7 separate regions of the Homo sapiens genome follow, and all the other regions are linked to region 1. The links are contacts of gene promoters, found by promoter capture Hi-C in blood cells and fetal thymus (Javierre and others, 2016). All regions are on one chromosome and are shown on one strand. The core of a region is centred on a gene start or on the middle of the fragment in contact, and the rest is flanking DNA. Distances in the headings are between cores, read along the strand shown.

Region 1 (4,378 bases), core at 1,272-3,771:
AAACCATATAGATACGTCTGAGAAATCCTAAAGTGCTAATTGCTCATAAAAGAAAAAATTACACATATAAACACACAAAGAAAATCCCTTCCACAAAATCGGGGTGTCATTTTGCATCCAGCGGGATTCATTTTAATTTCTTTGAAAATGAGAAGGAAGGGGACTCAAATGAAAAAGCAGATAGTCTGCCTTCTGGCAGAATAAATCTGAACTTGACAATATCATGTGTCTTTGGGGGTAAAACGTACATTTCAACAACAGTGACAGGATTAGGCCTATGTATATTTTTCAAAAACCGTTCACAAGACAGGCTTTTCTGCAGAGGCTGCAGTAATCCATCTGTCAATAAGTATTAAAATATTCAGATTTCACAGGGACAGACACTTTAACGCATATTTCCTAAGCTCCAGCCCTTGTGGAAAATAATCAACCTCTTTGCACCTTTCTGGGTTTTAAAACCTAAAATACAGCCTTTAAAAATGTGTGTGTGTTGTGGGGTAGGGGGGTGCATTGCCAACAACATTTTCGGTGATAGATGGAACTTCTTACGGGACTGTCAATGAAAGAGATTTTCCAAATATCCCAGCAAACAGCAATCTTTCACAGCTCTGATCACTCCTCCATTATAAACCCAAATTTTGGGTTGAGATAGGTAGATTATTTTAGACATATCTTTATTAGAAATTAACAAGTGACGAGATTTTGTGGAAGCTTTAAGAATTCATCTGTAATTTAATAAGTCGCTTGAAGGACTCTCATAGCCAAGGCTCAGAACAGCCTGACCTTTGAAAGCTGCTTCTGGTCCAAACATTTTGGGCTAATTCTTGAGGAATCTGAAATATTATTTTCCCCTCACACCCTTCTTTTAAGAGAGAGACATAAAAGAAACAAGAGTCTCCCTTATTCAGGGATGAGTAGGAGGGGAAAAAACCCGAACCAACATTTAAATAAGGAAACTAGCAGCTCTGAACAAACAAACTAGGACCCACAATGAAATGATTCTGCACTGCAATTGCCTTTAAAAAGAAAGTAATAGAGAAAAAGAGAAGGAAAGAATTTCTCCTTCTTCTCTACCCCCCCCCCACCCCACCCCCCAACTCAGCTTCAAAGCTAAGAAGACTGTGCTGCGTGTAGTGCATTGTAGTTGTGGCAGTCTGTTCTAAATACAGGCAGTATCTGTGATACTGGCACGGCAGGCCTTTAGAATTCCCTCCGGCTGATCTCTTAAACACAGACTGAAGAGATTTTTTTACAACGACCTTGAAACGAGCCTCGAAAACAAAAATCTCAAGACCTTAAGAGAAAACAAAACACAAACAGGTATTTGGCTCACAGAATTTTGTAGAAAACACACACATACCACCCCGCCACCCCCACCCTCCCCCCCACACACACGTTTCTTGCAACAAGAAATTTCCCAAGAGTCAACAATAACAGATTAAACCCACCACTTGCTGTCCTGGAAAGAAACAAACCAAACCAAAACAAATCCTTTGAACATTTCTCTGAAGTGCAGGAGAGACACACTTCAGCAAAAGTCCAAGGGGGAAAAAGAAAATTGCACCAAAGGAAAAAAAAAAAAAAAAAGTGGGGGCTGGGATTGTTACATATGGCCAAAAATTTAAGCTTCTTTCAATAGTATTAGTATTGAAATAATACATCTTTAAAACGCTTGAGGGATTAGATAGGGAAAGAAAAGGCACGTACAAAAAAATCCAACCGATGCCGATCCTGTGATTTACGTAACACCACAAACTTGCAAAAGGCAAAAAATCAGAAGCAAAAATCCATAAACCATCAAAATACAGAAACCAAAAATCCCAAGCCACCACACCAGAAAGAAAAAAACCCAGAACAACAGCAAAAACCCCTGTCCTAAATAAAAATAAAGCAAATGAACCCACCGAAAACTGCTTGGCAAATATTTTTCTCGTGGTGCCTAATATTCTAGTTGGAAAGAGCTGTGATGTTTATTTTATTTTATTTTTCTCTTACTCGCCTCTCTAACCCTACTATATATATAACATACTTTTCCCAGTGGTTCAAACCTCTCGCTCCCTTTTGTGCATTTAGCTCGATCTGCTGAGTTTATGGGTAAGAAAGAAGGAATTAGCCCCAGACCCCGGGAAAGCAAAGCGCACTCCCCCTCTTATGTCACCGAATAGCAAATTAGTTCTCAGAATTCCAGAGGCCGAGCTTTGCTACAGCGAAGGCGCCGACGTCACAGAGGAGGAGCCCACGTGATGGTGGCGGAGCAGGCCATACCATCGTCTTGGGCCCGGGGAGGGAGAGCCACCTTCAGGCCCCTCGAGCCTCGAACCGGAACCTCCAAATCCGAGACGCTCTGCTTATGAGGACCTCGAAATATGCCGGCCAGTGAAAAAATCTTGTGGCTTTGAGGGCTTTTGGTTGGCCAGGGGCAGTAAAAATCTCGGAGAGCTGACACCAAGTCCTCCCCTGCCACGTAGCAGTGGTAAAGTCCGAAGCTCAAATTCCGAGAATTGAGCTCTGTTGATTCTTAGAACTGGGGTTCTTAGAAGTGGTGATGCAAGAAGTTTCTAGGAAAGGCCGGACACCAGGTGATTATTGCTGTTGCTGCCGCCGCTGCTGCTGCTACTGCCGCCGCCGCCGCTGTTGCCGCTGGTGCCGCTGCCGCCGCCGCTGCTCATGATCATTATTTTACCTTTTAATTCTTTTTTTTTCCGCTCTTGCCAAATGCTTTGGCTCCAAGTTTTCTATGTGTATCTATTGATATAAATGTATATATTTATTTATTCTAGCTGTCAGGTGTTAAAATAAATGCCGAAGATTAGTCCCACGTCTCTCCCACCATAGGATATAGATTGTTATGTATTTATTATTATTATTGTTGTCTTTGAGTGAATCGGCCGGTTTGGGGAGGCTTTTGCCACCCTCCCTTGTGTTGTTTTGGTTTTTGGAAAGGAGGTGGAGGAGAGGAAGGAGGGGAATTAGGGGGCGGCCGGAGCAGAGAGGACGAGACAGTGCTTGGGGGGTGATTCGGGCTAGTCTGGGGGCTGTCTGGCCCCAGACCGCGGAGAGGACGCGCGCTCGCGCTCTCGCTCTTTCTGCTGCTGCTTGCGTACGGCTTGTGATCTCTCTGGATTCGTGCGGCTGTGTTTTTTCCCTCTTTTCTCGCTTGCAAACTGCTTTCCTTGCTCCGTCGCTCCTGGCCTCCGCTTCCCTCCCTCCTCTTTTTCCTCGCCTCTTCTTCCTTCCCTTCCCCTGTCCTTCTGGGTAACTCCGGGAGGCAAAAAGGGAGGCTGCCCGCTCGCTCGCCCCGCTGGCTCTCTTCCATCGGCCTCGGTCTTTTAGATTCCCTGCCTTCGAGCCGAACCGAGATTTGGAAGGAAAAAATGCAAGCGAACTCTTTGGGTTTTTGTTTTTGTTTTTTTGGTCATAAATCCAGATGAGATGAAGTATCGTGTCTACTATTTCCTTTCAGAGCCGTGATCTTCCTAATGAGAGCCGAGTGTTTTGGTGTTCCCTGCCCCTGTGTTTTGGGGAGCTTGGGGGCGGGGATGTTGAACACTTTGAAAATTATTCTTTCTTGGTTGTAGTCGAGGGAGTCGGGAACCTCCGCGCGCTCTCCCTGCTCATCCCGAGGAGAGAGACTGATGGCGGGACAGGGCTTCTTGGGGTGGGTGGGAAAGGGGTGCGCACTGCACCTGCGATGCCTTTCAGTGTGCGGGGGGACTCAGGGAACCTCGACAGGACAGCCTGGGAGAACGAGAAAGGTGGCGGGATTTCTGGCCGCTGCGGTGTTTGTATTTTGGGCGCTGCGTGACTCTGTGTTGGCTCCCAATGGCTGTTGCCTCCCTTTCCTAAATTTTATTTTATTTTTTCCCATGGTGCAAGCTCTGTAAAAAGGGAACTGCGGGCCTGAGCGTAGTGGACGCCAGGCTTCAGATTCCCGAGGTCCTTACCTTGGGCGAGGAGAAAGACGAACAGAGCCCCAGCCCGCGTTCCTTATGTGCAAGACTCAGGAGGAGAGAAGGGCACTTTGTGGCCGTGGCTGAGGGGACCCGGCGCGGGAGGAGCGGGCGCGGGCGCGAAAGGGAGATCTTTGTGAGTGATTTTGCAAAAATAGATTGCGAGGTTGGTTGGATTTGCAACCTGTGGCTCTCCTCGAGGGAGTAAGAATGGGGGAAGGCGCGGCGGCGGCGGCCCGGGGAGGGAGTGGGTAGAGTTGGAGCCTCAGAAATCGGCTGAGCTCCGGGGGCGGGCGGGGAGAAAGGGCGGGGGGGCAGCAGGAGCTAGGGGCCACCCCGCTGCCGGATGTAGTGACCGTGGTAAATGTCTTGAGAACTGTGGGTTGCGTTGCCTTTATGATGCCGTGTTATTGGAACCCTGGCGAAAA
Region 2 (4,378 bases), core at 1,351-3,850, 700 kb before region 1:
CAATAATAAATTCTTAAGGAATTGTGAAGCATCTTAGCTGACAATATCGAATGAGCAAACAATAGCCTGACTTGTCATGCAGCAAGTGAGGCCTTTCTGGGGAGAAAGGAAACAAGAGGAGGTGGGGGCCAGTCAGCCGCACAACATGCTCAGAGCCCACACGCTATCAGTTTTTAAAGCACTTCTTCACAGACTATCTGCCCTTGAACAACACATAATATAATGCTCAGCTAGTGAAAGAGAAGGATACGGAGGGATATTCATTGATAACAGTGAGGAAACTTAATTAATGTTAACGACACATTTCTTGATGGGAAGACTTAAAAATTTTATCCTTAGTTCTACTGGCCCCTCTTGAAGAGGGTGTCAAACAAACTGTAGCACCTTCAGAGAAAGGCAAACAGAAGGTTAAAAGAATCTGAAACCAGATTGTTAAGTACGGCTGTTTCTCTCTGAAAACACACAAAAAAACAAACCAAGGGAGATGAGTGTACAATAGGGCGAGCCCCTTACCTATTTTTTCGGCCTCATCTCAAACATCTCCTAGTGTTCTGTCTTGTTCACTGTCATATTCTAGAGCATAGTAAGCACTCCATAAAAATATGTTGAATAAATGAATAAAAGTCCTCAAAACAACTCTGGTTTCACTATCCCTCGAGGATGCCACATTCCCTCTTGCCTGTGGATCTCTGCACACATTATTCTCTCTGTCTGAATATTCCTCCTACTGCTTTACCTTATCCTCTAAATTTTCTGTCTTATAGCATCCCCAAAAGACACCTGCATCAAGTAAGCACACACAGATCATCTACCCCGTTATATACCAGAGCTCTTCTCCTTTCCCTTTGTAGCACTCATGATAGTTTGTAATTAAATGTTTGCTTGAGTATTTTGATTAATGCCTGTCCCCTTGACCACACTAAAGGTTCCAGAGAAACCACAGGACATGTCTATTTTGTTCACAATTTTGTTCCCAAGTACCTAGAAAAGTTTCTACAATGCAATTGCCATACAATAAATATTGAAAAATGTGAAGGAATGAAAGAAGGGCCCTGAAGTAACATCAGTAAAATGGCCTTCCTTGACAACACCACATTTTCAAGAGATTTTTTTCCCACTCAGAAACCCTGCTGAATAGCCAGTATGCCTCTCTATGACCACAGTCCCAGAGATAGCCATGACCAGAAACAGACACTTAACACTTATGAAACAAATCACTTTTCTTCCCAGTAATTTTGAGAGACTGAATCTGTTTACTATGTATGGAAAAGAAGCAGAAACCAGGAGGTACTAGTAGTTCCATACCCATCATATTAGCAAAAAATATAAAGTCATGCAATACCCCGTGCTGGTGATGGCATGAAGAAAACAAGAATCCTAATGCTTTACTGGGGGAAAGTAACCCTAGTGAAGCCTTTATGTTTAAAAAAAAACAAAAACAAAAAACAAAAAACACAGAGCCTAGTGAAACTCAATATTAAAATGCACTATGATCAAGCACCCTCCCCACAGCCACAAATCCTGAGCTAACTTCTGCCAATCATTAAGAACACATATACAAAATGCTCACGACAGTACATTTGTGGCAGCCAAGAGTTGGAGGTATATGACTACCTCACTTTGAGGTGTATCACTAACGAAATCAATCAGTGAAATACAATGGATGCACACTCTGGAAGACTCTACAGTATTACAAGTAGTAAACCTCCTAAAGGAGCTGCAATGTAAATAGATTTTTTTTTTTTTTTTGAGACAGAGTCTCACTTTGTCACCCAAGCTGGAGTGCAGTGGCGTGATCTCGGCTCACTGCAACCTCTGCTTCCCAGGTTCAAGCAATTCTCCTGCCTCAGCCTCCCAAGTAGCTGGGATTACAGGCGCTTGCCACCATGCCCAGCTAATTTTTGTATTTTTAGTAGAGAAGGAGTTTCACCATGTTGGTCAGGCTGGTCTCGAACTCATGACCTCAGATGATCCACCTGCCTCGGCCTCCCAAAGTGCTAGGATTACAGGCGTGAGCCACCGCACCAGGCCTGTAAATCGATTTTTGAAAGATTATGCTGATCATATAGATAAATGTGAATTAACATAATTATTTAAACTGATGAGCAATAGTACAGCAATAGTTCCTAATCTATGGGCAGGGTATATATTGGAGATACTGCAAAGGTCCTGACAATTCTATGCCTGCTCACTGAGCATTATTCATGTATGTGATTAAATATATTTCACACATATTTGTATCATTTGTAAAAGTATGTAATTGTTTTCTCATCTGTAGAAAAAACTAATACCAATGTCTCAGCGCTAATCAAATTTACAAATCTAACTCACACGAATAATATGTGACATTAAATATTTACACGTTATCTATGTATTATAATTCATAATACAGGTTGGGCGTGGTGGCTCACACCTGTAATCCCAGCATTTTGGGAGTCCGAGGTGGGCGGATCACGAGGTCAGGAGCTGAAGACCAGCCTGACCAACATGGTAAAACCCTGTCTCTACTAAAAATACAAAAATTAGCCAGGCGTGGTGGTGCACGCCTGTAATCCCAGCTACTCAGGAGGCTGAGGCAGAAGAATTGCTTGAACCTGGGAGGCAGAGGTTGCAGTGAGCTGAGATTGTGCCACTGCACTCCAGCCTGGGTGACAGAACGAGACTCTGTCTCAAAATAATAATAATAATAATAGCAATATAAATGTTACTTATTTTTGAGGGGGGAAGACTATGCTGAGCAACAACAGTAGTAAAAAGAGTAAGAAATAAGATCAGATCGATAGCACAGAACCATGATCTAAAGGCACAAGGACAAAGTAGCGAAGAGTGAGATGTACAGTCAGATTGCCTGATTTTAAATCTTGCCTCAGCTACTGACTCACCAGGTATGTGAGCTTAGAAAGTTACTTTCTTTGTGTCTCAGTTTTCTAATCTATAAAACACACTAGATAACAGTCCCTGTCTCATGGAGTTTGTTGTGAGATTATTATAGTTATTACATTTAAAGGACTTGAAAGAGAGCCTAGCATATGGGAAGTGGCTGATAAATGTTAGGCATGATTATTGTGGAAATGAAAACAATAGTATATATTTCTAAAAATTCATGCATTTATAAGTGCTATTCCAAGCCCGTTAGGCTTCTGTGAGGTGGAAGGGAGAATGGAAGAAGGAGAAAGGATGAGGAAAAGAAAAGAAAGAAAAAGAAAGTCAATCAAAAACAAGAGAGAGCCTCTTCAAGGACTATTAATAAGAATTGACCATGCTTGGGGTCTTATATTTAACTCAGCCCAGTGGATCTGGTATACATAAGGGAGAAAGAGCAGAAATATTCATGGAATCATGTCAACAGACGTGCAGTAAAGTAAAAGTTTCAAAACTCCTGGTTCCAAGGACCTCAGAGCTATTGTTGTTGCTTCCAACGTCTTTTGGATTTCCTACCACACAATAAACCAACCTTGACTAGTGTGTCACTTTCTATTTTTTGCTATCTTAGTATAATCTCTGACTACGAAAGGCCCTCAAGTAGAAAAAAGTATCAGAGTTGCTCCATGTTGCTGCAGAAGGCAAAAGATTTAAGAAGGTAGAATACAGTTTAAAAAGACACATTTCTGATTCTAATTCTAAACCAGGTAAATTCCAAGGTTTTTCAGAAAAGCACGTTTCAACAACTCACTAAGATTTTTATGAACATAAAAAGCCTCAGACACACTAAGAAATAGTGCAAAATGCATTTTCTTTACAAATGTTGTTTGGGAGAGGACTACCATTTGCCATATACACAGGCTTACTTGGTTCCTCTCAGTTATAGCACAGGCCACACAAATTTCCAGAGGTGAGATTAGTCCACAGTCTCCTACCCAAGTCCCACTGAACGTCCTAGGCAAAACTGACAGAGATCGTCTTTCTGATTGGTCCCCATATTTAGCCCCACCTTGGTTGCTACAGTAAATGTTAGATAAACTTACCACACTTCAGAATAAATTAACATTTATTTAGATAGATATTTAGATAAAGATATCTAAATATAGATCTTTATCTAAATATAGATATCTAAATATAGATATCTTTATCTAAATATAGATATCTTTATCTAAATATAGATATCTCAATATAGATAGATATTATTATCTATTATGTGTTAGCTTTTGCACGAGTCATCTCAGGTAACCTTCCTAAAAACCCAGGGAAATGAGAATATTATCTCCATTACAAAGACGGGGTGAAGGAAAACTCAAAAGGGAGTTTGTCCACGTTCCCAAACCTCCTAAATGCAAAATCATAACTTGAACCCAAGACGTCTGCCAACAAGTACAATTGTTTTACAACATAACACAAATAGTCCTAATGAACATCCCAAATTTTGAATTACAGAGCCCTA
Region 3 (4,378 bases), core at 1,209-3,708, 690 kb before region 1:
CTTCAGTCTTTCATGTATACTTGTTCCTAGCACAGATCTTTAAAGAAAGTAGGAAGTCTATCATTCCTTTTCAAGAACTAAATCTTGGAAACAAAGACATTAGACAGGATGGTTTCTGGAGCCCCATCCAGCTATAAATTCCAAGATGTTACAGCCAGAAGGAATTTATGACATCATCTAATTCGATCCATCATTGACCCCAGGCTCAGAGTGAGAAAAGGATGCCATCAAGCGCAACCAAGTCTCCTGAGTCCAGTCCGGTGCTTCTTGAACACACTGTGGCACTTTTCTAAACTGAAGATAGTCCAGGGGGAATTGCCTCAGGTTTATCCCCTTAAATTCCAAACCAGGACAGACTCTTAGGATACATCTACTTGGCAGATGACAAGAAAATATTTAGCTTAAATAGCTGTTATTCTGAACATCACAGTGCTGGCCAAAGACTCTTCACCAAGACTGAACTTGCTGCCTGGCACCACTCTAGTAAAATCAAAATGTAAGGCAAGTGCTGATCCTAGACTGGTGTTTTCAAATGGAAGAATGTAACTCATTAGGGTCATACAATCAATTCAGCAGGTATCCAAAAGAATTTTTGTAATGAAATTGAATAGAAAACATTAGTATGCATCACATAAAGAGCCTATATATGAAAAAATATATATATCTATATATGAAAATTTCACTTAGCATAATATTACATTGACAATATATATTACATTGACATGTACATATATACGCTCTTGTCAATGTACTATGTGTTTCTTACCACTATTTATGTCAGAAAAAACAAAGTTCGAAAGTCATTACTATAAAGACTGCAGTAAGCTGTAGAACTGACTGCTACACGATTAACAAGCAGAGAATTCAAAAACAGGTCTTAGAACACTAATCACAGCATCTGTAGACTTCGTCTTCCTATTACTTCTCAACAGTAATCCAGATCGCAACTGGAAACCATGAGAAACATGGGACACGATGAAGTTATACTACCATTCACCCTCCCCACTTTCTCTCACGATGTGGACTATCAAGTTCCTGTTTTAGGAGACAGGGTTTCTTTTGTCCTCACCCACTCTTTGCCTCTTTCTCTCTTTCTGAAATAAAAATTTTAAAAAAAGATAACACCAAGAGAAAGGAAAACAAAGAAATAAAAGGTTTCAGTTTTTTGTTTACTTCTTTCTGCTTTTTTCCTTCCTTCTTTTCCTTCTCTCTCTCTCTCCCTCCTGTCTCTCCATACCTTCCTCTTTCTCTCTGGCCTCTCTTCTCCATCATCTCTCTCTCTCCTTCCTATTTTCTCCTCTTTCTCCCTTTCCTCTCTCTCCCTCCTTCTCTCTCTCCTTTCTCCTCTCTCTCTCTCTCTCTCTCTCTCTCTCACTTTCTGTCTCTCTCTCTTTCTCTCTCTCTCATCCCTGAGCTCTTTCAGCAAACTATCAGAATATTTTTTTCTTTCTACTTCTCTGGCTGGATGGCTGGGTTTGAGTAATTTTCTTTTTCCTGGGGTTGGTTGCTAAGAGACACTCTATTACTTCCCTTTCTCTTATGACCCGATTACTGTGATCAGCAAAGACGGCATGCAGACAACATCCTGACATGGTTCATACAAGATTGCTGTGCCTGGTTACAAAATGATTGACTTTCTTAACCCTCTCACAACTGTCAGACCAAAATTTCCTAAGTTATTTTTCACACAGGGACAAAGGATTTCCCCACTTTCCTTTGAAATGGTGGTTGTGATGGATTAACTGTATCCATCACTATAACGTTCAATACTCCAGTTGAAATACATTCAGTGAAAGCTCCACGCCACCTCCTTATTCTTAATATATATTTCTTTTCATTTTAGAGGTAAACAGACTAAAAAAATGTTCTGAGTTAATCTCCAGCCTAGATAGAGATAAGGCTCTAAGAGAACCACTAAATAGCTTCTTGGCAAGAGTCCTCCAGCCCCTGCTCGTTTTTCTGGTGTACATAGCCAAAGCAAAGGTCATCCCTTGTTCATTCCTATCCTGCACAGCTCTTGGCAGAATACCTTAAAGGTCCTAGGCACTTAATGGATGTTTGCTAAATGAATAAATGCATGTGTGTTCGCACTGAGCTCTTCTTCCCATCCCTTGAGGCTCTTGTCCAATCCTCCCATCCACACATTTCAGGAAAAGTAAAAAGAAAAGGTTACAAGCTCCTTTTAAAGGTTCTAATGCCATCAAAACAGACTAGAAATTTAAGCAACAACAACAAAACTAAATGTCAAAAAGTAATAAAGATCCTGGGTCTTTATCTAGCATATCATCCCTGGGTGATATTATCCTCATACAACTTGGAAGAACCAGCAAGACATTCATTTCTTTATTCTATCCTCCTCCCCAACACAAGGATAACCTGGAAGAGCTTTAAAAAAAAAAAAAATTCTTCTTGCCGTAGGTCAAATTCACACATGATCACCTATAGCATACACACAAAGACCTCTCTGAATCCACCCTGATTCATAGCTACATTTTTATCTTAGAACTTCGTGCCTTCAGCTAATACTCTGATTTCTATTAAAAATGAAGTCCTTCTGGGAGGGTTCCATTTTGACATACTTTTATCAAAGATTTAGAGGACGTCTCTCCTTTTGATAGCTATCGCTGTATACACAGATATAGTAGATATCGGTAGCTCAGTACATGCACATTTAACAAATATTTTTGTATAGACTTTGGAAGTGAGCAAATGAAATACAGTAGAAAAATCATGAAGTTTGGATTTAGAGATATTTGTGTTCAAATCTAAGATCCATTCTTTGTAAGTCATGATGCCTTGGGCAACTTACTATCTCTCTGAGCCTTAATTTCATCACTTGAAAAATGGAAATATTAGTACCAAACTTCAAATAATGCTATGAAGATGACATACCAGATACCCGGCATACAGCAGGAACAAATTAAGTGTTAGCTTCCTCTTAACTACATGCACTTAAGAACATGAATGTATATTTTGCTCAGGTGTAGAGAAAAAGATGTGTAAGGATATTAGCTTAGAATGAAAGGACATGGGGTTGTCAGAGGAATATACTGAGGGCGTACAGACTGCGGAGACTATGACCCATGTCACAACCTAACTAAATTCACGATATTCTATGGGAACAATTTTACTCCATGCACTTCAGGAGTAACCAATTTTATGCAATATCTGTAGTTGAATCATACTTTTGTACAATCTTAGAGCAGGAAGGAAGTGAAGAAACAATATTGTTCAATCACATTGTTTTACAATTGTGGAAACTAACCCAGAGTCATTTGTTGATTTACATAGGCCTCAAGAATGCAGGGAGTGTCCTTTCCATTCACCCTTCCCTCCAGTGAACTCTTGTCTTGTACAGTAATTGCCATTTTGATTGACTGCCACCTACTTTTCAGCATGGCTAAGATAAACTCAGCTTGACTCTGGCAGACCTTTTTGATGGACCATCCCTGCATAATTCTGAGATTATATTCACAACAAAATCAAATTTTAAGATAAATGCGAGGTCTTCGCTAAAAATCATGGCTCTTTATACTCTGTCTCGTGCTCCTAGGGTTGGGTTTATTCTTGAAAACAGAATGTTTGAAGAGTGTTTCGGTCTTCCATGGTGCCCAGCTTTCAACTACACGTCTTTCATCCTTCCAATCCCTCGGTGACTCTAGCTTTGCCTTTCTCTACTTCTGAAAAAAATGCCCAACTAAGGCACTGGTCTATGACCAACAAGTTTCCTGGCAGCTGTTCCAGTGAATAAAAATTTCTTGGTAGTTCTCAAAATAGGCACAGTTTCTCAGATGTGTTCTCAACCTTGGGCTGGCTGTTTTCTAGGGTAAAAGGCAGTCATTCCAGATGACAACCATTTCACGCAGGTTAATTTTCATCTGAATCATATTCAATATAGAGAAAACTGTATGAGATAAGCTGCTTAGGAATACTATAAACTTACCATTAGCAAAATATGATACCTCAAAAATCCCTATATTTAAGAAAACTGTGGCTGTAGCACTCTAAAAAGAGTAAAAGTATTTGAGAGCCAAGAAATCCTAAAGAAAAAAAAAGTTAATTATGTAATAATTCAATGAATTAAAGGAAAAATTCTGGAACAAATAACTTCTACATATAAAAAAAAAATCTCAATGTTGAGCTGGGTGGGGAAGACTCAACATCATCAGTGATGGTGTAAAGCATTTTCAACTTTACTGAACTTGGCCTTACTATTGGGCTTTCAGTTATGTCTATGCCTTCTCAGGTTGCAACAAAAAGATTTTCAGAAATTTTCAGAGATAATCTTGCCAGTGCTGCTTCTCCAGATGTCTAAGGATGTTCAGTCATCTGCATCTATTACTCTAACTGCACATTATTTACATTCTAAACAAACACA
Region 4 (4,378 bases), core at 1,392-3,891, 620 kb before region 1:
ACCCTCTCTTTCACACACACCTCTTCCTTTCAGGTAAACCAGTTTTCAAAGTGAATAGTATCAAAGGACTGACCCGAGGTAGATGAAGTTCTTTAGAAAAGAAGACATTCGAGGTCCTATAGAGGGTCTTCTCACCTTGAGCATAAAATGTTCCTAATCATGGCTTTCATCTGTTCTCTCTCTCTCTCTCTCTCTCTCTCTCTGTGTGTGTGTGTGTGTGTGTGTGTGTGTGTGTGTGTGAGAGTGTGTGTGTGTTTGTAGTATAACAGTTATAACCAAAAGAAACAGTTAACCTCTTTCTTTTTAACAGAGTGTACAAACAAAAGAGGCATTGAACAGGTAAATGACAGGTAAGTAAGAGACCTTGACTTTAGTTCTGATTTTGTCAGTAACTAATAAAAAGACTTGGAAAGATTACTAAAGCCTTCTGGCCCTCTATTTCTTCATCTGTCAAGGGTGGGCTTGGACAAGATCTCTGAGGACCCTTCCAGCTTAACGAAAAGCTAATATCCTAAAGACATAGGGGAAAAAAAAAAAGCCATGATGGTCAAGCCAACTGTTTCTGAAAAGTTAAAAAAGGGTGTTGTTTCTTCCACAAGCCCTGGTTTTGAATGCAAAAAAAGTATGCCACAGTTTAAAATCACCCATATTTGTGCCTTTGATGGTGAAAAAGTGTACCACCAGAAGCCAACAAAGTTTTGCTTAAAAACAAGCTATTTTCAGGAACAACTCTCTGAGTTAAAGTGCTAATTCACAAAATTGGTTTGGCCGGTATAACACTGTCTTCTTTCTACAATTATTAAGCTCTGAAAGGTTTTTATTTCCCCCTCCTAACAACATTTCATTTCAAAACTGTTTGATCCTTAAATAAACCTGTAATTTCTCCTGTGGGGAAGGGAGGGCAGATGGAGGTCTACAGTTTAGCCCAAATGACTTTATATTTCACACAAGATTATTATAAGATGACAGATGTGAACCTTAAGAATTTTAACAATAAAGTCATGCTATCCAAAGAATGTTCCACAGAACACAAGTCTGGGAAATCATCCACAAAATGGTTCCATTATAAAATAAATTGGACAAAACCTGAATCTAACATAAGAGAAAAGAAAGTTGTGCTTATTGCTTTTGCCTGTTCGACTTCTCAGAGTTAAACTTGTTGGGGATGCATCAAGAATCTCCACAATGGGTGGAAATAATAGCAAGAGTCCCACAGTGATTTGACCATTTATGAATCTAGTATTTCATGGAGCACATTTTAGAAAAGGCTGCCATGAATATAACAACTGACTAGGATAAGGGCATAGCTTTAGACTTGACAGCATCCTTACTCCTGAATGTTAAGTTCTACAATCCAATTAGGAACTTGTACATTTAACTCTATTTTTATCGACATCATATTTATATATTAACTAGTATGCTAAATTCTATTTTTATCCACACCAGATATATCTATTAACTAGTATGTTTAACTCTATTTTTATCTATACCAGATCTATTTTATAATAGATGTGACAATAGGCAACTAAAATATTTGACACTCAGAGTGATTTCTACTTCTTGAGATTTTCTTGGAATGTAGAAGAAGCCATAACCCACTCTATAAGGACTGGGTTCTCCCTCTGCTACAAACATACCCTGTGATAATAGGCCATGCTAAGGGGAACTTTCTCTCTTCTCTTTTTTTTTTCTAACTATTCATAGGCTTAACTAAGAATCAACTTTCTGGCCAGGTGCAGTGGCTCACGCCTGTAATCCCAGCACTTTGGGAGGCCAAGGTGGGTGGATCATGAGGTCAGGAGATCGAGACCATCCTGGCTAACATGGTGAAACCCCGTCTCTACTAAAAATACAAAAAATTAGCCGGGCATGGTGGCGGGTGCCTGTAGTCCCACCTATTCGGGAGGCTGAGGCAGGAGAATGACTTGAACCCAGGAGGCGGAGCTTGCAGTGAGGCGAGATCGCACCACTGCACTCCAGCCTGGGCGACAGAGCGAGACTCTGTCTCAAAAAAAAAAAAAATCAATTCTTTATAATGCAGCAAAACAGTGAGAAGACATCAGGCATAGAGCTAACAAGGGAATGAGAACTGATGCTGTCCCTGTCTAACTGAAAGCCTGCAGCACAGGCCAATATTTGTCTCAGGGTCTCAGCTTTCTCACACGCATGTGAGCTAAACAGATTCCCCGCTTTCACATCTCATGAGTCTGTGATTTTAGCAGTGGCTCTTCATTATCTCTGAAGACAATTCCAATGTGGGGTTACATTGGCAAATGACAAAATAGAGTTTCCAGCACTCATTCCCTCTCAGAAACTTCTAAACAACTAGCCACACACCAAAATACCTCACACACGTTAAGGAATTCAGGCGAGAGTGCAGCACCTGGGTGGAACATAGAAATAAGAAATGACGCATTGAGGAAGGCAGGAAGGACAGCTTAACATGACCTGTACAACCCCCAGCACACCGCTGACATAACCTCCAGGTGAGGGAAAGAGAGTGCCCTTCACCACGGAGCCCAGCCCCAGAATCCCCTCTAAGGCAAAATCAGTGTCTCAAGGAGACACCTGCACTCCCATGTTCACTGCTGCGTTATTCACAATAGCCAGGATGTGGAATCGATCTAAATGTCCATCATTTGAAGAGTGAATAAAGAAAATGCGGTGTATTACCACGTGGAATGTTATTCAGCCTTAACAAAGAAGGAAATCCTGTCATTTACGAGAAGATGGATGAATCTGGAGGAAATGTTGCTTAAGGAACTAAGCCAGGCACAGAAAAACAAACACTGCGTGACCTCACTGATATGTGCAAATTAAAAAAGTCAAACACATAGAAGCAGAGCAAAATGATGGCTACCGGGACCAGGGGAATGAGGAGATCTTGGTTCTTGGTCAAAGGGAGATCCAGTGATACCAAATGAATAATTCTGGAGATTTAATACACAGTGCGGTGGCTGTAGTTAATACTGTATTGTACACTTGAAATTTGCTAATAGAGTAAATCTTAAACGTTCTCACCACATACACAGAAAGGTAACTGTGAGGTGATGCCTATGTTAATTAGCTTGACTAGGGTAATCATTTCACAATGCAATGTACCTCAAAATATGTTGTATACCTTAACTATACATAACTTTTGTTTCGTCAATTATATCCTGATAAAGCTGGAAATTGATTTTTTAATAAAAACAAAATAAAAGATAACATTCAACAGAGTAAAAAAAAAAAAAAAGAAGAAGAAAAGAAAGAAAGAAAGACATTACCAAGATGTTTTGAGCAACGGGGCAGCAACTTAGGAACAAGTGTTCCCTGTGCCTGAATTCCAGTCTCACAAAGACTGCTGCTCGAATAACTACCTCTTGCAGGTACGTGTTCTAAGGTCTAGGCTAAAACTCCAGTCTCATGATTCTACAGTCATGACATGTAATGTTTGGCCAGCAACACACACATTATGGTGCCTCATCAAGTCACATACTAAAAGTGACGGTAAACTTAAAATCAGCTTGACATGGCAGAGAGCAGAGGCGAGACAGACACAGCGTGGAAACACATTCACCACATACTGCAGGGTTGCTGGTGGCATCCTCTGTTGTCATAATGACCTTCTACAGGAAAAGTATTTAAACATACACTTCTACTGCCCAGAATATAATGCATTCTAGGAAATACTCTCTTGCTGAAACCTACCCAGATTTATTTTTAATGGCAGAGGACAAGAGTGGTTTTAATATTAGCTTCTAGGAAAAGGAAGAGATAAAGAGAGAAAAGTAAGATTAAGAGGTCACCAGAAAAAAAAAAAAAAGCGCTTCTATTACCCTTAAAACTCATCTGAGAGAGGAAAAAAACATAAGGAGGACTCAATAGCCCTTTATTAGCCCTCTGTTTAGTGCTCTAAAGAGAACTCTATGATTCTTCTACAGACATCCAACACTTGCTGCCTCTGTCATTCCTATTCCTGCCTCTCACTCAGACAAAAGAAGAAAGCCCCCTTTGAAATACATTTATTAGAATGGACTCCAGGGCTTCTTCCTCTGTTCATTTTAAATACAAGACATCAATACTATAAAAGCCTCACTCACACATCTACTGGTGCTGGAACTTAGGTCCCACCTACAATAACAGGCCTCCAAACGGTCTGAATGGTGGCCAGAGGGCAGCAGGAAACAAATATGAAAAATAAAATAAAATGTGCAGCTCCAAAACTTCACTCAGCCTGGGAAGTCTTTTCCCCTTTCTGCCAGGTCGAATTCAAATTCTAATGAGCGTGCAGGTTCCAGATCAAAACCCTCCTCCTCCAGAAAGTCTTCCTTTATTTTCTCTCCATTTAACTCCAATCCCAGCCAAAACTAACATCTCTCTCCTCTAATGACTACAA
Region 5 (4,378 bases), core at 1,280-3,779, 580 kb before region 1:
TTTTACAAAATCATAGGAGACTCAATCAAAGTGAAAATTTGACCAATGGATTTTAATATAATAGGGTATAAAAAGTCCATTAATATGATTTCACATTCCACATTGAAACTAACCTATAAGAAACTACTAACTTTAGGTAATGTGAAAACTGTCAAGTTTTGGTATAGTATCAAAGAAGAAAATCCACAATTACTTTTTATCCTTCCTTTTTCAAATACATAGCTGTGAGAGACTGGATTTTCTTCATAAACATCAATCAAAACAATATTTCACAACAAATTAAATGCAGAATCCAGCTCCCACTTTTGTCACTATTTTTTCACAAATATATTTATTTTTTATACAAATATTTTTCATTAAAATTGTAGTTTCATTTCTTACTTTTTTGAATATGGTAAATATCATTATACATAATGCATGCAAACAAAAGCTCATTTTTAAGAACATAAAGGAGTTCAGAGATGAAACCACTGAACTAGACAGGACTTATGTTCCCTCTCTCCCTAGCACTAATCTACTTTGGCTCTAAACCACTAGGAAAGATAAAGAGTAGCTCATCTCTACTTTCAGACGCTGCTACCTGTCTATCTTTATATAGCTGCTACTTTCTTGAGCCTCTGGAAACACTGAAACATCTGTATGATGTCACCATACAAGAGGCCACTGGTCAGTAAAAAAAATACTCACTGTGTGCCTTCCATGGAACAGGCAGTGGTTACTAGGACCTGTATCAGAATTCAGACTCCACTACTGCTCCACTTATATGCTTCTTCAAAAGACAGTATCTCTCCAAACCTGTTTCTTTAACGTAAAATAAGAATACAATGGGAACTACCTCATAAGATTTCTGTGTAGATCCAATATAAGGATCCATTAAGGAGCTTACTATATACAGTGCCTAGCATGTAGTAAACACTCCATAAATCCTACAAACTGTTATTATAACTAAGATATCTCTTACCAAAAAAACACTTTTGGCAATGTTCACGAAAGAGATAATGGTAGTCTAACCGTATATTATTAGAGGCTCATAAACTATCCCAGTTGCAGACTCATTCAGTTAGATAAAAATAGAGAAGCGAAAGTATCCAGGAGTACTGGCTTTTCTCACCTCAAGAGCAGAAGAATCAGTCTTTGGCCAGGAATGAAATCAGTGTTGTAATCATGACCCAGCCACTACATTAATTCCTAAACTTTATGTGGTCAAATGAGTTGATACACAACATCATTCTCAGCACTATGTTGACAGGACAGAGGATGATAAGAAAGTAAGAATTTAATCTACATTCTTGAATAAAGAGAAGAGTTTCGTTTTTCCTTTGTTTGGGCAAAAAGTCACGTTCATTGTGTCTCTTTACTTCATTTAAAATCCAGAAGAATTGAGATTGAGGAAAAATAAGAATGCTTATCAAACAGAGGTCAGACCCAAAGAAAAAAGAATGCCCTCACAATACTAAGAATAGAATACAAGCAGGAAACAGGGGAGGATCTCCATGATATATAATTTTAAATTAGAAATATAATTCTGAAGAACAGACAGGTACATACCTACAATGTCTTTATAAATATATAAAGAAACTAATCATTAAACTAGTTATATTAGTAAGGCCCAGTTTCATTTTCAATAGAAAAAGCATCATGTCACTTTTATTTCACTTTATTTCATCAACTTTAAGTACAACCACTTTAACTATCAATACCTGATAAGACTCGTAACTGTGGATTTAACAGAATAACGTTAAGTTATACTTCCAGAATAATGTATAGAAACGATCATGCCCCCTTAACAGCACTTGGATCTTCAATCAGGAAATTCAATTTTAGCTGCAAAACTATGTTTTGGCAAAAGTGCAATTGAACTCAGTGTACTTGTCACATTTCTAAATATACTCCGGTCACCATGACAACAAGAGAGACTGATGGATTGCTTAAAAGAGTACGGTATATTTAATTGTCAGCATTTTAAACTGACTCAGAAAAATGCTGTGTGATAGGTCTACTCACCATGGTTACTGCTGGCTGAGTCCATAATAATAAAGGTTCACATACGCACATCACCAGCGTGCGCACAAAGAACGTAAAAGTCGGAAGACCTGGTATTTCCAACCACCTCAAACGCCAAACTTAAAGCTTTAGAAAGACTCGTTATCATCAAGGTGCCCCTCAAGAACCTCTCTCCCCAAATGGTCAGATGAATCCCAAGATCTGTGTCTGCACACAGGGCCACTAGAGCCAATCCTAAATCAGATTCCAACAACTGCTTCCTTCTCAGATTAAAGATAAGAAAAAGTCGAGGGTATTTTCTCCCGGGATATATCTGGGAAAAAGAATGAGAGAGACTCTTTGTTCTTTCTTGTCATGTAGATCTATTCCCAAATGATAATCTTCTGAGATCCATTCAGTTCCTGAATAAACACTTCCTGCACAAAAATCCCTATGCCAGAGAATCTTCTACAGGCGGAGATACAGATGCAACAAACATGGACCCTGCTCTCAAGAAGCTGATATCCTAAAACAAGAGGAACACAAAAAATATAAATATATAATCAGCTAAATAGAATGAAATAATCCAAATAAATGATCTATTAAATTATTTAATTTACCATACAGTGTGCCTAGCCTATAGCAAACACTCACTAAATCTTCACCATTATTATTATTACTAAAATATTTCTCACCAAAACAGTTTGCAATGTACATAAAGAAAACAAAAGCATGGTAATCACTCTTTTAGAGAACCATACATGCTTTGTAGACTATAAAGCAAGATAATGACAGAAGAATGATGGGGAGGGGGGTATGTGTGCTACTTTAGCTAAAGAATGGGGAAGAGCTAGGTAAGGCTTTAACATTTGAGCTAAGCCTTGAAAGATACTTCCAAGCCAGTTTTGCACAGAATCAGAGAAAGATCAAGTGGGAAAAAGCTTGGCTTATACAGAGGGCTAAAGGAAGGTCAGTGTGTCTACAGATTACTGTGTAAAGTGATGAGTGGTATGAAAAAAGCAGAGAGGCCAGGCGCAGTGGCTCACACCTGTAATTCCAGCACTTTGGGAGGCCGAGGCGGGTGGATCACCTGAGGTCAGGAGTTCGAGACCAGCCTGGCCAACATGGTGAAAACCCATCTCTACTAAAAATACAAAAATTAGCCGAGCGTGATGGCTGGTGCCTGTAATCCCAGCTACTCGGGAGGCTGAGGCAGGAGAATTGCTTGAACCCAGAAGGTGGAGGCTGCAGTGAGCCGAGATCGCACCATCGCACTCCAGCCTGGGAGACAAGAGCGAGACTCCATCTCAAAAAAAATAAAGAAAGAAAAAAAAAGGAGAGAACATAGAGTCATCTCACAGGGCTTTGCAGGCCATGAAAGGGCCTTTCAAACATTTCTACAGATGCTCCTTGATTTCTATGGGGTTGGTTACACCCAGATAAACTCAGTGTGAAGTGGACAAATTGTAAGTCAAACCATCATAAGTCAGGGACCTTCTGCAGATACTACAGCAGCCACCGTATGGCTTAAGGGGAGGGGTGTGATATGATCTGACCAACAATTTTAGATCTCTCCAGATGGTGTGGAAAAAGGCCACAAGGGGAAACCATAAAAGTAGAAGACAATTTCAGAGACTATTGCCATAGTCATGGCAATGGATGGTAACTTGAATTTAGGTAGATTCAAAAGAAGTAATGATAGCAATCAGAGTCAGAAAACATTCTGGAGGCAGAACAAACACGCACTGGCCAAGCATGTACTCTGAGCAGGAGAAGTAGTTAAATGAGTTATATGGAGGTCCTACAACACGGGGGTGAACATGCCTCATGCTTCAGGAGGTCTTGGTAGATCTTGAGATGACGCATTTCGGGTGATGCTGCTGCTCTGTGAATGACACTTTGAGAACCAAGGCTCTAGGAGAGCCAGGAGACAGGAACAACAGTGGAGCAGGAGGTGATGAACGTTGGACTTATGGTAATAATAGATGGAATATAGTAAAGAAGAAACATTCAAGAGATGTGGCAAAAAGAAATTACCAAAGACTTGAGGGCAAATAATCTAGGAATGGAAATAAAAAAGAAGATGGTGCTGGTGGAATTGCCTCTAAGCTTTCTTAAATGACATTGTTCATTATATAGATAGAAAAACATGGTTTCTATCTATCTAGTGCAAATCAGTTTTCCAAGTCACATTTCATGTTGCCACAACCTATCCCTATAAAATAAGGCTAGGGAAATTATTGTAGTTATAGATAATAACGACAACAACAACAATACCAATCATTTATTGAAAGCTTATTCTGTGTCAACCACATTGCAACATGTACTATCTCCAAATCTGGCAATAACTCTATTCCTATGTAAGAAAATGACAAACTAATGCTCAGAGACGTTA
Region 6 (4,378 bases), core at 674-3,173, 560 kb before region 1:
CTATTTCAGGCTTGTTTGTGATGATAACAGCTGGCCTGGCAAAATATATTACAATAGCTGTCTTTTCTGGCTTTCCAGAGCTTACAAAAGTTTGAAGGGAGTTACTGCATTTCATTGGTTTGTTTGCTTCATAAGGTGCATCTTGTGGAGGAGACCTTTCTGTCTTCTGGATCAAGCTGCCTAATGAGACTCAGATTAGGTTAAACAAAAACACACAGCAGCATGTGAGGAAAACCCCATTCTGTCAAATACTAAAGTAAAGTTCATAAATGCAATCTTATATCCACATCCTAAGAGCTGTCTTCTTTATCATGTCCATATGAAAGCCCTGCCTTCTCTCAAGAAAAGAACTGAAAACTGTGCTATTTGCAGGATCCTTTTCAGAGGTTGAGTTACCATAAAATTTAAAGTGGAGAACTGATATATAGCTAAGGTTTCATTGTGGTTTACTGCAAAGAGTAACAGTTTTAGATTCAAACAAGTCTCTGTTCCACAAAAACTGTGGCACTCATTAATCATGTAAACTTAGGCAAATCATTTAGCCTCTTTGAGTCTCTGTTTCTTAGTTATAAATTGGGATAATAGAAATTACATTGAAGGAAGGATGGGAGAATTAAACGAGAGAGTAAATGCAAAGCAGCTTTCTCAGAATCAGAAGAAAAATGGTTTTCAGTAAAGGATGGTTGTTTTCCTTCCATTTTGTCCAAAATCAAGTTCCAAGCAGCTCCCCAAACCTTGAAAATACCTTCATTATGTTGTCTCTAAACTCCCTGAGAATGTTACAATATGTTCTGGGTTGTTGTTTTTTTTTTCTTTTTTTTTAAGTCAGTAAATTGGGCTGGGTACAGTGGCTAACACTTATAATCCCAGCACTTTGGGAGGCCAAGGCAAGCAGATAGTTTGAGCCCGGGAGTTCAACACCAGCCTGGGCAACATGGCAAAATACTGTCTTTAAAAAAAGTACAAAAAAAATTAGCTGGGCATTGTGGCACACAACTGTAGTCCAAGGTACTTGAGAGGCTTCAGTGACTCCAGGACATTGAGGTTGCAGTGAATTATGATCGTGCCACTGCACTCCAGCCTGGGTAACAAAGTGAGACTCTGTCTCAAATAATAATAATAATAAATAATAAATAAATAAAATCAATAAATTTGGAGAGATGGCAATTGTATATCTTTGACTTTTCCTTAGTCTGACCTCAAGAAAATTATTTTTAATTTATTATATCCTTCTTAAAAGAGAACTACTCTGAAGCTATACAATAGCTCTTCATTCTATGTCCTGGCAACTGATTCTTAGCAAAACATTCCTTAAAATAACAGTCTCCAAAAGGCATTATACTAAGAACATCCTGATTAGCATCACAGAAAGGATAATCAGGTTAGTTCTGACCTTCCCTCCTGATTTTGAAATGAAACAAAAATGGCCGAGCTCTGGTTATTTCCACTTTCTGGTCCCCATGGCCTTTGGCCCCTGTAACCCACAGTGTAAAATGCAATAAAGAAATTCATAAGTTTTCATCAAAATCATCTCCATTAACTTTATAGATAGACAGTGAGCAGACAAGCAGGTGTAGATATGGATAGGCAAATAGATAAATATAAATGACAGGTAAAAATGGAGAGATATACATGAAACAGGGAGGTAAGAATTGCCAGAAATGGTTAGACGGACGACTGGATAGAGAGGCAGGAGGGTGGATGGGCAGGTGTATGGAAAAACAAGCATGGAAAAAAGGAAGGATGGAACTAGGGCAAATGTAGAAGATAAGATGCTGAGCAGACACATAGAAATGCATAGAGACAAAGGGATAAATCCATGACAAAAAAGATCAATCTTAGGACTGAAATAGTAGAAAAATCTCCTCTCACAGCTTACTACTCCTTCAATCTTCATTTAAGAAAATATTCAAAGGTCTCTCTTCATCATTATGTCGTCATATCCAGAAATGTGTTTACAGTATTATATATGTGCCCAGCAACAGAAAATGAACTCTTTGAGCAAAACAAATCTATTGTATCCTTCTATGAAGAGAAAATAAAAAGTCTTCCAGATGGCATAAGGCAACTTACCTAACGCAGGACATTCAGGAGACCAACCAATCTATTTTTTAGTATTTCTGTAACTAATGTTTTATTAATAAAGAGAACTTGGGCTAATATGTTTTGCTGTAGTCAGAATTTTCTACAAATTAATAACTCTACAGGTCTGACCTTTTTACCTTAACTGAGATCTTAACTAAAAGTACTGCTAAACTCCAATTCAATACATATTAATTTATTTAAAAAACTGGATACTTCAAATTCCTTTACTGCCAAAAAAAAAAAAAAAAAAAAATGGCCAAGTGTGCCTGCCATGTTTTAAAGTAAGTTCCTTTCTTGGTAAGCAGCTAACCCTTAATTATGGAAACAATAGTCACAATCGTTCGTCACAAAATCTCAAAATGCATGTGCATATATCAGATAATGCAATATTATGCAATGATTAAAATTTACATTTTGGGAATGTTTACAATACAGTGTTATGTAAAGAAAACAGAATAAAAATACACATAGATATACACAAACACACACAAAAAAAGAAAAAAAATAAACACACACAACCCTTCTTAAAAAAAGAGAACAGATTACCCAAATGTTTAAATTAGAACAATGATGTCCCTGGATGATGGACTCATTAGGGTTATTTTAATTTTCATCATACTTTTGTGCATTTAACTTTTTAAAAAGAGTCTATGTAACTTTCATAATTGAAAAAGAAATGTCTGTTCTGTTTTAGGGATGATAAAAGTCCCTTTGTTGAGATTACAAATAGGAAGGTATTTTTCTGTTTACAGAGTACTTTCATAGGCATTAACTCATCTGAGCCATTCAACAACTCAGAGAAAGGGGTTTGATGATGATCTCCAGAGACAGACAGCAGAGCGGTGAAGCTCATAACTCGAAATGTGACACAGGCAGACCTGGCTCAAGGCTTCCTGGTGCCCTACTGTCTTCTTTACAATGTCCATCCATTTTTCTCAAGAAAGGAGTTTTGTCTTAGTTTGCTTTCTAAAAGGGTTCCAAAACTGTTTTACTTCCCTCTCATCCCAAGGTCCAACATCCTATTTTTTTAAAAACAAGAACCAAGAATCAAAAAACAGATAGCCCACCCCAGATGCCTCACCTCACAGTGGGACGGGGAGACTATTCAAGAACTTTAAAATTCACTGTTGCTATTTTCGCATATTCATACAGCCAATTATCCTAACGGGACTTGTCCAACCTATTAAGGGGATATCCAGGCACAATTTTAAAAAAAGACACAGTCTGACCTAGAAAGGGAATCAGAGACGAAGATTCAAAAGCTGCTTAAGACGACGTAATGCTGAGGGAGAATTATAGTCAGCATCGAAGAAGCAACACAGCTCAAATGTGCCTGGTCTTGGAATGACTCACCGGTATTGCTGTGACGCTTTCCTGTCCCATTGATCAGACAGGTTTTTCCATTAGAATTTACTGACGACGTGCTCCCCAGTAAGTTGGTAAGATCAATTCTGTAGTTTTAAAATAAGGAAGATATGACTGAAATGTTAGAACACAGTCTCCACGCAGCACACACAAAAAAGCCCAGGGAGAGTCCGAGGCTGTGTGAAGGAAAAGTGGCCTCCCTTCTAGCTCAGCCCATGAGCAAGTTCACCCGTCTGTCTGCTCTGGGTTTTTTGATAAAGAGTTAACTGATTCTGATACAATCTGCTGCCTTATTAAGATGTAAGACACATAAGTTAGAGAGAGAGTGTGTGTATATGGGAAAAGTCTGGGCCTGCTTAGGGCCTGGGGCAAGAGTAGAAGCTAGGTCTTCATAAAAAGGCTGAAGCCTATAGAATAAGATGGAGCCTCATGACTGGCCTCATGGGGCTAAGCTTCCCTCTGCTCATGCAAACTTCTAGAACAGAACCCATCCCACACTGGGCAGAATAAATACTCATGATGGGAATGGGCCTGGGGTAGAAAGAAACAGATGGTCAGGACGCTGAGCTTTTGTTCCTTTATAGGATTGTTCAGCTTCCTCTCCAGCTGAGACCACACCCTTTTTGTGACCTTCTCACTCTTTTCATGCCCTGAGTGTGTCTTTTTCATCCTCATACCGATGGATTAAATGTCTTTTCAGAAAGCTTTCACTTTATGCACTGCAGGCCATAAGTAAATTGATACCCGTAAAGTTTGAGAAGGGGTACTCATGAGAAGCGCCTCACGAGAAGTGTGTGCCCTAGTCCAGACCCAAACATTTAGGGAGATGAGCTGAATTCTGGTAAAACCTCCCTAAGTGAGTCTTATCCACAGACTTAGGTGAGAACAATTGCTGTGTGGAGCAATCACCAACAATGGTATTTAAGAG
Region 7 (4,378 bases), core at 1,293-3,792, 530 kb before region 1:
GAGGAAGAGGTGAGGACAGAGCACTCCTTCCAACCACCTACATAGTCTTTGGCAGATGAGGACTTGCTCCAAGCCAGGTAAGCAGAAAAGGCCAGGGGACGAATATCAGGGGTGAGTAGGGTAAAAATAAAATCAAAAGCTAGTATTGGAGAGATTTAGTTTCTAAGTCTGACCCTGCCATTACAAGTTGTGCCACATTGGGTAAGCTACATAAACCTTTCTAATCCATCCATACCTCATCCATCCAATATGGATCACTAGTATCTACTGCATAGGCTGGCTTTGAGGATTAAATGAAATGAACAATAGAAAGCAATTTACCCAGTGCCTGGAACATAGTACGTGTGTAATAAATGCAAATTATCATGATCGAAAGAGAGGCTGGGGGCTAAAATCCAGCACAAGAAAAAGGGCAAAAAGAAATGCATGAAGTTAGAGGGCTAAATCATGGGAATGGAGAATAAATGATTTTTCCTCCACAAGCTCTGCCTTATCTCTACTAAAGGGTCATCACTGGCCCCATTCCCAAACAGCTAGTTTAGGGCGAATGACAATAGCCAGGGATGGTCAGGCACCTCAAGCTTTAGCAGAAATCTGTGGTCAGCATGATCAACCGTGTGGTCAATATGGAGGTCATGTCTCGGCATTTGAGCCACTGAAGTCTAGGACTGAGTGTTAAATGTAGCTCCAAGAACCTTATCCCATAACAAGGAATGAGTTTTCTTAGGAGGGAAATGCACCCTCGACCACCAGTTCATAAACACACTTTAACACAGTCCATGTCTCTTAGAGAGATTAAGAAATGGGTATAATAACCATGGAATTAAACAGAAAGTTCTATTAAATCTTATTATTAGCAGGTTTTATTCTTTATTATTAATTATTATTAAGTAAGTTCTCTTAAGTCAAACTCAGATAAAGAGTCATGAGACTTTCCGGAAAAGGAAAGAAACTAAAATTTACTGAGCACCTCCTCTGGGATAGAAGCATTTAAAAAACTAATAGAGAAGAGAGAATCAAGGAATATTTCCTGAGAGATGTTCCTCTGAGTTGACAATACTCTGGGGCACCTGGCAGCCAGGCTATGGCTTTTGGGGCCACGTCCATTTCTTCAGCAGAATCCTGGTAATGCAGTGCTGCTGGATGGGCCCCTGTATTAAACCATTCTTGCCCTGCTATAAAGAAATACCCGAGATTGGGTAATTTAAAAGAAAAGAGGTTGGCCAGGTGAGGTGGCTCATGCCTGTAATCCCAGCACGTTGTGAGGTGGAGGCGGGTGGATCACTTGAGGTCAGGAGTTCGAGACCAGCCTGGCCAAAGGGGCAAAACCCCATCTCTACTAAAAATGCAAAAATTAGCTGAGCATGGTGGTACGTGCCTATAAGTCCAGCCACTCAGGAGCCTGAGGCAGGAGAATCACTTGAACCCAGGAAGCAGAGGTTGCAGTCAGCTAAGATCATGCCACTATACTCCAGCCTGGGCATCAGAGTAAGACCTGTCTCTCCAAAAAAAAAAAAAAAAAAAAAAAAAGAAAAGAAAAGAAGTGGTTGAGTTGTTGAATTATTGGCTCACAGTTCTACAGGCTATAGAGGAAACATAGCAGCATCTCCTTCTGTGGAGGCTCAGGAAGCTTCCCAACGTGGCAGAAGTCAAAAGGGAGCAGGCACTTCACATGGCAACAGCAGGAGAGGAGGACAGACAGAGAGAGAGAGAGAGAGAGAGAGAGAGAAAGAGAGAGAGAGAGAGAGAGAGAGACAGAGTTGGAGGGTGGGGGGTGCCACACACTTTTAAATGACAAGATTTCACAAGAATTCACTATCACAAAGACATCACCAAGTCATGAGGGATCCGCCCCAACACCTCCCACCAGACTCCACCTCCAGCACTGAGGATTAGAATTCAACATGAGATTTGGACGGGGACAAATATCCAAACAAATATCTAAACAAATATCCAAGCATCAGCCCCCAGAGGCCCCAGGGCCACGAACCACTCTTTCCTCCAGGTTCTGTGACTTACAACAAGAGCACCTACCTGCCACTCCATGTCTGGAGATCAATCAAGGAACTAGCTAAGAAGGAATACGAAGTTGGGGTCCGGCCACCAACAACCTTCATCTACTTCATCGCCACATGATGAAGCACAGCAGACACAACAAAGAGACACAGAAGAGCCTGAGAAGCAAGTATGGCTGTGTTGATAAGCAGAGTGAGAGAATAAAAGGTGTGGAGTCAGGTTACACACAGGACAAAAATGGGAGACAAGAGAAAGAATAGAGGAAAGGACAGAATGAAAGAGCTGTTGTGTTTTTTGTTTGCTGTGTTTATTTATTTAAAGCATACTTTTGCCAAATCATTTTTTAAAGTCACACTTCTGTTCAGTCTTTCAAATGGTAACTACAGCAGGCTTTGTTTTCTTCACTGACCAGCAGCACCTAGAAAAGTTCCTGGAGGCTGGGCGCGGTACCTCATGCCTGTAATCCCAGCACTTTGGGAGGCTGAGGCAGGAGGATCACGGGGTCAGGAGTTCGAGATCAGCCTGGACAATATGGTGAAACCCCATGTCTACTAAAAACAAAAAAATTAGCCAGGTGTGGTGGCACGTGCCTGTAATCCCAGCTACTCAGGAGGCTGAGGCAGGAGAATCGCTTGAACCTGGGAAGTGGAGGTTGCAGTGAGCCGAGATGGTGCCATTGCACTCCAGTCTGGGCAACAGAGACTCCGTTTCAAAGAAAAAAAAAGTTCCTGGAATACAGCAGGTGCTCAATAAATAATAGCTAAATGAATGATGCCCAGTTAGACTGGACCATCATTGCTGAGAAGAAAGCATCATTTAAAGTTACCAAGAAGAATAGCAAAACACTGTTTATGCTTCTCTTAACTCACTTTAATAAGGTGGAGAGCCAGGCACAGTGGTGCACACCCACCGTCCCAGCTACTCAGGGGACTGATACGGCAGAATTGCTTGAGCCCAGGAGTTCCAGGCTGAGATGAGCTATGATCACACCACTGTACTCCAGGCTGGGCAACAGAGGGAGGGGAGACCTCATTTGTAAATAAATAAATAAATAAAGTGGGTAACACAGTTTATGGCTCCATTTATTCACCAAACTTGAATTAGATTGACCCGCACTCTAGGACAAAGGAAAAGAAGTCATCCCATCAATGAAACCCTAAAGCAGAAAAGCCTCTCTGTGGAAACAGAGAATCAAGGGAAATGTACTCTGTACAGTTATGTTTTAATCTGAAAGTGATGACCCAAAGTCAGGATGGGCTCTGGCCATTCCAGTCTCTCCTTTGGGAAAAGGTGCCAGTTTCCACCTCTTAAGACCACCACATGCTGTAGAACTAAAATAGAGGTGACTGCTGATTCCTTTAAAGAAATAACAGTTGGAGAAGGGGACAGGATTTAGAACTAAATTTAAGCACTGAATTAGGCTTACCTAGAAAGCTTGACTGTCAATTTTCATGGTGTTCCTTCAGTCAGACTCCTAACGATAATTGGAAGGATTAATTCCTAGATAGTTCAGAAACTACCCTTTTCCCATAATGGAAAATACGTGGTAACTTGGAGGTGAAACTGCTTATTACAAAACAGTGACAAGGGTCAGTCTCAACCAATCCACTCTAACCATAAGGTCTATCAGGAATTCTTGCGGCCTGCAAGACTGGCACTTCTTTGTGTGGCTGTGCCTAATCTTAAGAGGCTATTATTATTTATTACACATGAAGCACTTTCTATCTGCAGAGTGCTTTGGAATCGTTTTTTATTAGTTACTCAGCATTCTGAAGTCTAAACACAGCTAAAGTTCTAGTGGAGGATGGAAAACTCCATGATCTACCAATTCATCACACTTGACAGGTCCATGCCCCTCCTCCCAATGGGGTGGACAAGTTGATAAAGGCACCAAGAGAGTGGTCAGAACGAGAAATCCAATTCAATCCCACTCTCATTTGCCAGAGCTACCTGGCACTGGGCTAGGGGCTGGGAGCTGTAGCAGAAAGAGGTACAAAAATAAATTTGACACAGCTCTTGACCTCAAGGAATTTACAGTCTGGGACTATTTGACAGGACTTTTATGGTCCCCTTTGTGGTTAAGAAAGCATAAATAGGTTTTAAATATCATGTGCAGAAACACAGAGCATGTTCCTACATGACTCACAATTTGAGCAATTATACAGACATAATCCAGTATCAAAAATGGAATAAAAAGGAAAGAATACAGAATGAGCTTCTCCAATTTTCAATTTCCATTGTTAAGTTAGGAAGTCCCAAACTACATCAGAAAAAAATTTAGAATAAATGAATTCACTGATAAAGAGAAGAGAGAAAAGAAAGCCAACACAAGAAACTTACTCTAAGAAAAAAGCAGACATTT

Evidence for each region. The method cuts DNA at HindIII sites, captures the fragments that hold promoters and counts their contacts. A CHiCAGO score of 5 or more calls a contact.
Region 2: a contact is called between a fragment that was not itself captured here and the fragment with the promoter of BCL6 in region 1, in 1 of 17 cell types (total B cells). The highest score is 5.9, in total B cells.
Region 3: a fragment that was not itself captured here is called in contact with the fragment with the promoter of BCL6 in region 1 in 6 of 17 cell types (M1 macrophages, monocytes, total B cells and 3 more); the score reaches 13.6 in M1 macrophages.
Region 4: a fragment that was not itself captured here is called in contact with the fragment with the promoter of BCL6 in region 1 in 2 of 17 cell types (naive CD8 T cells and naive B cells); the score reaches 5.5 in naive CD8 T cells.
Region 5: a contact is called between a fragment that was not itself captured here and the fragment with the promoter of BCL6 in region 1, in 1 of 17 cell types (activated CD4 T cells). The highest score is 5.1, in activated CD4 T cells.
Region 6: a fragment that was not itself captured here is called in contact with the fragment with the promoter of BCL6 in region 1 in 3 of 17 cell types (M1 macrophages, M2 macrophages and activated CD4 T cells); the score reaches 8.4 in M1 macrophages.
Region 7: a contact is called between a fragment that was not itself captured here and the fragment with the promoter of BCL6 in region 1, in 4 of 17 cell types (M2 macrophages, M1 macrophages, M0 macrophages and 1 more). The highest score is 9.8, in M2 macrophages.

What each region holds. Positions count from the first base shown.
Region 1 is chr3:187,743,611-187,747,988 of GRCh38, reverse strand. BCL6 (BCL6 transcription repressor) reads left to right here and starts at 2,521. Exons shown (of 10, transcript NM_001706.5): 1 at 2,521-2,579. BCL6-AS1 (BCL6 antisense RNA 1) reads right to left here and starts at 4,320. Exons shown (of 2, transcript NR_173091.1): 1 at 3,945-4,320; 2 at 1,963-2,745. RefSeq lists an enhancer at 2,883-3,408. The HindIII fragment of the contact is 3,720 bases long and covers 1,629-4,378 here.
Region 2 is chr3:188,448,116-188,452,493 of GRCh38, reverse strand. All of the region lies in intron 4 of LPP (LIM domain containing preferred translocation partner in lipoma), which reads right to left. Among named protein-coding and RNA genes, the nearest start is that of LPP-AS1, 120 kb to the left of the region's middle. The HindIII fragment of the contact is 6,076 bases long and covers 1-4,378 here.
Region 3 is chr3:188,430,595-188,434,972 of GRCh38, reverse strand. The region is part of intron 4 of LPP (LIM domain containing preferred translocation partner in lipoma); the gene reads right to left. Among named protein-coding and RNA genes, the nearest start is that of LPP-AS1, 140 kb to the left of the region's middle. The HindIII fragment of the contact is 4,911 bases long and covers 3-4,378 here.
Region 4 is chr3:188,364,545-188,368,922 of GRCh38, reverse strand. The region is part of intron 3 of LPP (LIM domain containing preferred translocation partner in lipoma); the gene reads right to left. Among named protein-coding and RNA genes, the nearest start is that of FLJ42393, 190 kb to the right of the region's middle. The HindIII fragment of the contact is 6,150 bases long and covers 1-4,378 here.
Region 5 is chr3:188,323,912-188,328,289 of GRCh38, reverse strand. All of the region lies in intron 2 of LPP (LIM domain containing preferred translocation partner in lipoma), which reads right to left. Among named protein-coding and RNA genes, the nearest start is that of FLJ42393, 150 kb to the right of the region's middle. The HindIII fragment of the contact is 794 bases long and covers 2,133-2,926 here.
Region 6 is chr3:188,298,415-188,302,792 of GRCh38, reverse strand. The region is part of intron 2 of LPP (LIM domain containing preferred translocation partner in lipoma); the gene reads right to left. Among named protein-coding and RNA genes, the nearest start is that of FLJ42393, 120 kb to the right of the region's middle. The HindIII fragment of the contact is 3,963 bases long and covers 1-3,904 here.
Region 7 is chr3:188,274,047-188,278,424 of GRCh38, reverse strand. The region is part of intron 2 of LPP (LIM domain containing preferred translocation partner in lipoma); the gene reads right to left. Among named protein-coding and RNA genes, the nearest start is that of FLJ42393, 98 kb to the right of the region's middle. The HindIII fragment of the contact is 1,820 bases long and covers 1,633-3,452 here.